Regions from separate parts of the Homo sapiens genome. Here region 1 is linked to region 2. Evidence: promoter capture Hi-C in human tissues and cell types (Jung and others, 2019). All regions are on one chromosome and are shown on one strand. Each heading gives the region's core, a stretch centred on a gene start or on the middle of the fragment in contact. The rest is flanking DNA. Distances are from core to core; before and after follow the strand shown. Region 1 overlaps EDC3 (enhancer of mRNA decapping 3). Region 2 holds the start of CYP1A2 (cytochrome P450 family 1 subfamily A member 2).

Region 1 (3,664 bases), core at 964-3,463, 99 kb after region 2:
TGATGTGAAAGCAATAGTCAGTAGAAACTGTAGTTGAAATTATTAATTTAGATCTTTTCCTGAGCTAGCGATATGCAGGTATGATATTCTCTAATGCTGGGCAGCAGCAGGAGTCAAAGCAGTCAGCCGTGCAGTCATGAGAGTAAACAACCAGTATTCTACAGTGTACTGTTTTGCCAGATGATTTTGCCCAACTGTAGGCTAGTGTAAGTGTTCTGAGCAGGTTTAAGGTAGGCTAGGCTGAACTATGATGTTTGTTTGGTAGGTTAGGTGTATTAAATGCATTTTCAACTTAGATATTTTCAATTTATGATGGGTTTATTGGGATAACACTCATTGTAAGTTGAGGGACATCTCTGTAGTCTTTTCTTTAGTACTGCAGTCTCTCAGGAATGGACCAGCAGTTTACAGAAGTAACTTGGAGAGCTCCCGCAGTCTGGCCTTGTGGCATTCATGTCCTAGAATACCAAGTACTTTTGTACTAATCCCCATGGTAGCAAAAGAACAACATATTTATTACCCATTTGGTGATGGCTTGGGATTTAGGATTCTGACAGCTTGCTGCTGGTGCCCTATATATTGACTTCATGCTAAGTGGTGTCAACCAACAGTACATAAGCTATTATTCACTAATTGCTCATACTCCTCTTGGCAGTACTCTTTGCCAGCTGTGTGTGTTGTGATGGGGAACAGTGTTGTTTTAGGTCTATTGATTGGGAAAACACATTCAGGAAGCAACTAAATTTAGCTCTTTGTTTAACCCCAATTTTTTCTCTCTGGAAATTCCTTTCAGGTTCTTTGGCAGGGCTTCTGTCTCCCGCAGTCACGGATCATCAGACATTTCTCTAGCTTGGGCCTGCCCTGCTAAATAATGGTGTCCAGTGATCACACTCTGGATTGGCCAGGGTCTTTCTGGATCCAGACTTGTAATTTGAAATTCTTTGAAGACTGATTCTACGTGCATGTGTTAAGTTTAAATATAAAACACTAGATGTGTGTGAGCACTCTGTGTTCAGTGGTGAGAACTCCCCAAAGAATACTGCTTAGTAAAGTGGTAAGGCTTCAGAGAAGAATCTTTATTCAACACTCATAAGATTCTTTTTTTAATTTTTTTTTAAATTTTATTATTATTTTTTGAGACAGAGTCTTACTCTGGCACCCAGGCTGGAGTGCAGTAGTGCAGTATCAGCTCACTGCAACCTCCACCTACTGAGTTCAAGTGATTCTCCTGCCTTAGCCTCCCATGTAGCTGGGATTACAGGCACACACCACCACACCTGGCAAATTTTTGTATTTTTAGTAGAGATGGGGTTTCACCATATTGGCCAGGCTGGTCTCGAATTCCTGATCTCAGGTGATCTGCCCACCTTGTCCTTCCAAAGTGCTGGGATTACAGGCATGAGCCACCGCGCCTGGCCTAACACTCATGGTATTCTAAAGGAAATACTTTAAGACAGTTTGGGTCAGTCAAAACACTGTGTTTATTATGTTTATTATGTGTAACTGACTCTAAGATAGTCCTTGCCTTTAAGTTATGAAAATGTAATAGGAGATGGAAAGATTCCATATATGCCCAGAGTCCAGTGAAAGTGTGGACATTAAGTGCACTAGGTGTTGAGAGGCAGGAGAGGTCCTGTAGGCTGCATCAAGGAAGGCTTCATGATGGAAGCCTTGAAACATGGGCAGGATTTCACCAGGCAGAGAGAAAGAGGAAGATATTCATGGGTAGGCTAGGCAGGTGCAGGTGAATAGTATGAGTAAAGGGCTGTGTGGGAGACTGGTCATTAGCTGGCTTGGCCAGGGCAGAGAGTTTGTGCTGGGGAGTAGAAGGAACTAAAATATAGCTTTGGACCAGAGCATAGAGGGCCTTGTGTGCCAGTGCTATCCTTGTCCTGTAGTCATAGGGAACAACTGAAGGCTTTTGGATAGGAAAATGACATGATCCAAATCTCTTTTAGGAAGACTGGTCTTGTGGTAGGATTCCAGGTGGAACGAGAGGGGAGAGAAGAGACCAGAGCAGGACCAGTCATGCTCATGATGTAGTTTACATACTAGGGATTTAGACCATTGAATGGAAAGGAACACAAAGATATGAGGGAAGCAACAGAGGGCAATTTGATAGGCTATGATGATTGAAAACAGGGTTGAGTGAACAGGAGGATTTGGAGGTATTGAACCTGTGAGGCAGGAAGAATGGCAGCAAGTCAAGTTATCATGAGATTGCACGAATTTATAGTGGGCCAAGCCTACATGGTTTTGTGACCCCCCCCCCCTTTTTTTCCCTCCTGCAATGCTTTGTGCCTGAGCCCAGAGAAAGCAAAGGCAAGAGTTGCTACAATGAGGGATAGGGAGATGTGGGAGTTATTGGTTATTAAGAGCTTTAATGAGGAGTTAAAAGTTATATAGCCAAAGAGAGGCTACTAAGCTGGTTTCCTTATCTATAAAGTGGGCTAATACTGTGGATTAAATGAGATTATGTGGAAAAGTAGCTAGCACAATACCCAATCTGTAATTATTATTCAGTAAATATTTGACTTCAAATGTGAATTTGCAAAGGCCACCTCAGTAAGATTATTTCAAAGCATCAGCATTTATAGAATACCTACTATGTGCCAGACACTGTTTTAAATACTCTGGGTAAGTCATAGTTCATCACCTTAGGGGCCTCTGAGTATAACTGAACCAAATATGTAAATATACTAATAACAGAAGTGTAGTTGGCTGCAGTGGCTCACACCTGTAATCCCACCACTTTGGGAGGCTGAGGCAGGAGGCTGGCTCGCTTGAGCCTGGCCTAAGCAACATAATGAGACCCCATCTCTACAAAAAAATAAAAATAAAAAATTAGCCAGGGTGCTAACACGGTGAAACCCCGTCTCTACTAAAAATAACAAAAAAAAAATTAGCCGGGCGTGGTGGCAGGTGCCTGTAGTCCCAGCTACTTGGGAGGCTGAGGCAGGAGAATGGCGTGAACCTGGGAGGCGGAGCTTGCAGTGAGCTGAGATTGTGCCACTGCACTCCAGCCTGGGCGACAGAGTGAGACTCTGTCTCAAAAAAAAAAAAAAAAAAAAAATTAGCCAGGGTGTGATGGTATGTGCCTGTGGTCCCAGCTACTCGGGAGGCACAGGTTGGGGGATTGCTTGAGGCCAGGAATTCAAGACCAGCCTGGGCAACATAGCAAGATCCTATCTCAACGTTTAAAAAAAATGACTAGAATTCTTCCTTCCCTCTGTTGTAATAAATTCTCTATTCATGAGCCTTTCCTTCTGGGTAGACTTCTTTAACCTCCACCATTTGTTTTCTACTGTGCAGCCCTCTTCTGTCCTCAAGTATGTAAAAGCCCAGATGGGAGGCAGTAGGGTGCTCTTGGTGCAGGCATCTCTGCAGCTTTGCCTGAAGGATGATCCACTTCCACACTGTGCGCTGAGATTTAGGGAACAGGAAGTGTGTGAGGATGACCCGAACTAGAGTTCCTATTTATTTCCTTAAAAAGGATCCAGTTAAGCTTGAGTGAGGTGCTCTGGTCTGAGCTCCAGCACCTTTTACCAATACTCATTTCTTTTGGAAAAGGCAGTTCTGGTTTCTGCTAGGAAGGGAGGCAGCTGGTGAAGCCACAAATGATTTGTTCCTGTGGCTTTGTGACTCTACTCTTCTCACGCTGGCC
Region 2 (3,624 bases), core at 76-2,575:
AGGGCATTCTGGGCCAGGCGCCGGCGGGCAGCCCACACCGGTCCAGAGTCTGTGCTGAAGGTCAAGCTCTGGCCATCAGTGATGAGGGTGGAGGTGTAGAGGTCAGGCCGGCCCTTGAAATCGTCGCCCTGCCGCACCAGGGCCTGCCGGATGGTGTCCAGGCGGCTCAGCACCAGCACGGGCGTGGAGCCAATGCGGATCTGCAGGACGTCCCCGTAGCGCTGGCTCATCCTTGACAGTGCCAGGTGCGGGTTCTTCCCCAGGGTCAGCACATGCCCGAGCAAGGGCCAGCCCCATGGCTCTGGTGGACTTTTCAGGCCTTTGGGGACCCGAGGCCTCAAACCCTTGAGCACCCAGAATACCAGGCAGAAGATGGCAGAGGCCAGGAGAAGCTCTGTGGCCGAGAAGGGAACAGACTGGGACAATGCCATCTGTACCAACTGCAGGGAAAAAAGGAGGGACCAGGCTGAGGGTTGAGATGGAGACATTCATTCATTCATTTCCTCAGTCATTTGATAAACACTGATGCGTGTTCTGTGCTTGGCTCCCAGCTGGATACCAGAAAGACTAAGCTCCATCTACCATGCGTCCTGGGCCCACAGAGCTCACCCTTTGAGCATCACAGAATCTGAGAGCTGGAAAGGAGCCTCAAGATTCCCAACATGAACGCTGGCTCTCTCCTCCACACATCATCTCAGTTTCCACTTCTGGGGCTGGAGTAGAGGCAAGTGACCACTCCAAAATGGGGAAGCCAAGGACAGCACCCTTGTCAGCCCCTGGCACAGCATGCATGCTGGGTATTGTACCAAAGAGTCCCTGCCAGTGCTGGCTTTCTGCTGATACCTTCCATATACCCAAGGGACCAGGAGTTCCCCCTACCCAGTGACACTGAGGTGGCCAAGGTCCCAGGGCTGGTTCAAATAGCCTGTGATGCCCCCTCCCCAGGGCATTCTTTATCAATACCAGGAGGGGCACCTCCTCCAGGGATGAGTCCCCATCCTCTCACAGTCTTGGAGGTTGGGGTTGGGCTTCAGCCAGGGCCAGGGCTGCCCTTGTGCTAAGGGGGAAGCCCTCCCCATCGCTCTCCTTAAAAATGGCTTAGTCCAAACTGCTCATTTAAAATCGGGAAACAGAAGTCAAGAGCTGGGTAGCAAAGCCCGGAACTCAGGACCCCTACACCTAGCCCAGGCTCCCCGTCTTTCTGTCCCCACTAGCTTCCAGGTTCTATAGTTGGGGATCCCAGAGATTGTAAATTGGTCCCAAGAAAGGTACCTGTAGAGGCAGGTGCTTGAGATTGGCAGGGTTGTAATGGCTGGTGTGGAGCTTCTGGCTCTAGGTGAGTGGCCTTTTTATAAACACCGCCCCCTATCAGATTGGCCTGGTTGTCCTGATCACCTGATATGAAAGCTGGATCACTGAACAAAGTTGGAAGGATCAACTCTTGGCCTTGGGCCATTATCCCTCAGCTCCACCTACTACCTAAGACCCAGGGTGACTCTTTGGGGATAGGCCAGAAGGGGTGCTGGGTCCCTGGGGATGAAGGTACAGCTGTCTTTAGGGTTCAGGGTAGGGAGCCTATTTCTCTGAAGAGTAGGGTAGGGTCTGGGAGTGGGGGTTAGGCCTTTGGACTGATCTGGGCTTCTTTCCCACTGCACACATGAGGAAGAGCTCTGCCAGGGCACTCAGTCTAGGCCAACCAGGCTCACGGCCCCTCTCCAGAGGGATGTTCTTCTGTAGTACCCTCCAACAACCTGCAAAACCAAACAGTAAATGGGCGTGTTCCAGCCACTCCTGATTTTCAGCCCAAGTCCCCAAGTGGAAAAGAAGAGATGATAAAGATTTTGCATCCTAAAGAGAGGCCCCCCTTATGCAAAAAGACTAAGAGACATAACCAAATGCAATATGGATTTGCATTTGATTGCCATATCGATTGGATATGGCATTTAAACAAAATTTTAAAAAAATCTATAAAAGATGTTTTGGGGACAATTGGGGACATGTAAGCACGGACTGGAGATTAGATGATATTCTGGAATAAATGTAAATTTTTTTAGGTGTGAACAGAGTGTCATGGTATGTGGGAGTGTATCCTTATTCTTAGGAGATTAATGCTGTAGCATGGAAGTGTCATGATCCCCACAACCTCCTTTTGAATGGTTCTGTTAAAAAATGTACACCTCTAGGCCAGGCGCGATGGCTCGCACCTGTAATCCCAGCACTTTGAGAGGCCGAGATGGGCGGATCACCTGAGATCAGGTGTTCAAGACCAGCCTGGCCAACCTGGTGAAACTCCGTCTCTACTAAAAATACAAAAATTAGCCAGGCATGGTGGCATGTGCCTGTGATCCCAGCTACTCGGGAGGCTGAGGCAGGAGAATGGCTTGAACTTGGGAGGTGGAGGCTGCAGTGAGCCAAGATCGTGCCACTCCACTCCAGCCTGGGCGACAGAGTGAGACTCCGTCTCAAAAAAAAAAAAAATGTACACCTTTAAAGAGTGTAATTGGATTGTTTGTAACTCAAAGGTTTATCCTTGCTTGAGGGGATGGATACTCCATTCTCCATGAATGCTTATTTCATATTGCATGCCTGTATCAAAACATTTCATGTACCCCATACATATATACACCTACTATGTACCCATAAAATTAAAACAATGTATACCTATCTATCAATAAATCGAGAGAAAGTAGATATGAGAAATGTCAGATATTCATGGACTTACGTGAGGATATATGGTGTTTGTTGTACTAAAGGAGTCTTTAATATGGACCCAGATCTCAGTCAGATCTAAGAGGAGGAGGAGGACAAGCCTTAAATTGGATGTGAAAAGGAAGTTTGCTATCTTTTTTTTTTTTTTTTAGATACAGAGTCTTGCTCTGTCACCCAGGTTGGGGTTCATGTGCCACAATCATGGCTCACTGCAGCCTCGACCTCCTGAGCTCAAACAATCCTCTTGCCTCAGCCTCCTGAGTAGCTGGGACCACAATCACAGGTGTGTGCACCATGCCTGGCTAATTTTTTTATTTTTAAACATTTTTTTGTAGAGAGGAGGTCTTGCCATGTTGCCCAGGTTGGTCTTGAACTTCTGGGCCCAAGCAATCCTTCTGCCTTGGCCTCCCAAACTGCTGGGATTACAGGTGTGAGCCACTGTGCCCGGCATGGATGTGAGAGGGAAGTTTTGATTTAGACTGGAGTGGGCTTTTATTCCTGAAAATGAGAAAACTGTGGGATCAACCTGTGAAGATGCCAAGGCAGATGGATGGGGAATCCAATAGAGAAACAGAGCATGTTTGAAGGCCATGAATGGGAGAAGAGGAAAGTTGTTTCCTGTCTATATCTCCATTGGGTTCAGATGACTCAATGAAAAAGGTCAAGGTTTGAGGTTAGGCTCGGTTTTATAGAAAATGGACTCTTTCTTTCTCTCTGTCTGTCTGTCTCTCTAATTAACTAAAGTTCATGGTTTACTTAGATTTCCTTGCGTTTTACCTAATGTCCTTTTCCTGTTCCAGGACCCATTGGATATCACATGACATTTAGTCATCACGTCTCTTTGGATTCCTCTTGGCTGTGACAGTTTCTCAGGATATCCTTGTTTTTGATGACCTTGACAATTTTCAGGAGTAC

What was found. Contacts are between HindIII fragments. The study calls those that stand out against the background at their distance.
Region 1: a fragment that was not itself captured here is called in contact with the fragment with the promoter of CYP1A2 in region 2 in 2 of the 25 tissues and cell types used here (heart right ventricle and spleen).

The regions. Positions count from the first base shown.
Region 1 is chr15:74,648,470-74,652,133 of GRCh38, reverse strand. The region is part of intron 4 of EDC3 (enhancer of mRNA decapping 3); the gene reads left to right. Among named protein-coding and RNA genes, the nearest start is that of CLK3, 34 kb to the right of the region's middle. The HindIII fragment of the contact is 6,435 bases long and covers 1-3,664 here.
Region 2 is chr15:74,746,546-74,750,169 of GRCh38, reverse strand. CYP1A2 (cytochrome P450 family 1 subfamily A member 2) reads right to left here and starts at 1,325. Exons shown (of 7, transcript NM_000761.5): 1 at 1,273-1,325; 2 at 1-440. The coding sequence starts at 431. RefSeq lists promoters at 432-1,569, 3,301-3,624, 1,235-3,624, an enhancer at 3,423-3,624 and a cis regulatory region at 2,656-3,624. The HindIII fragment of the contact is 12,167 bases long and covers 1-3,624 here.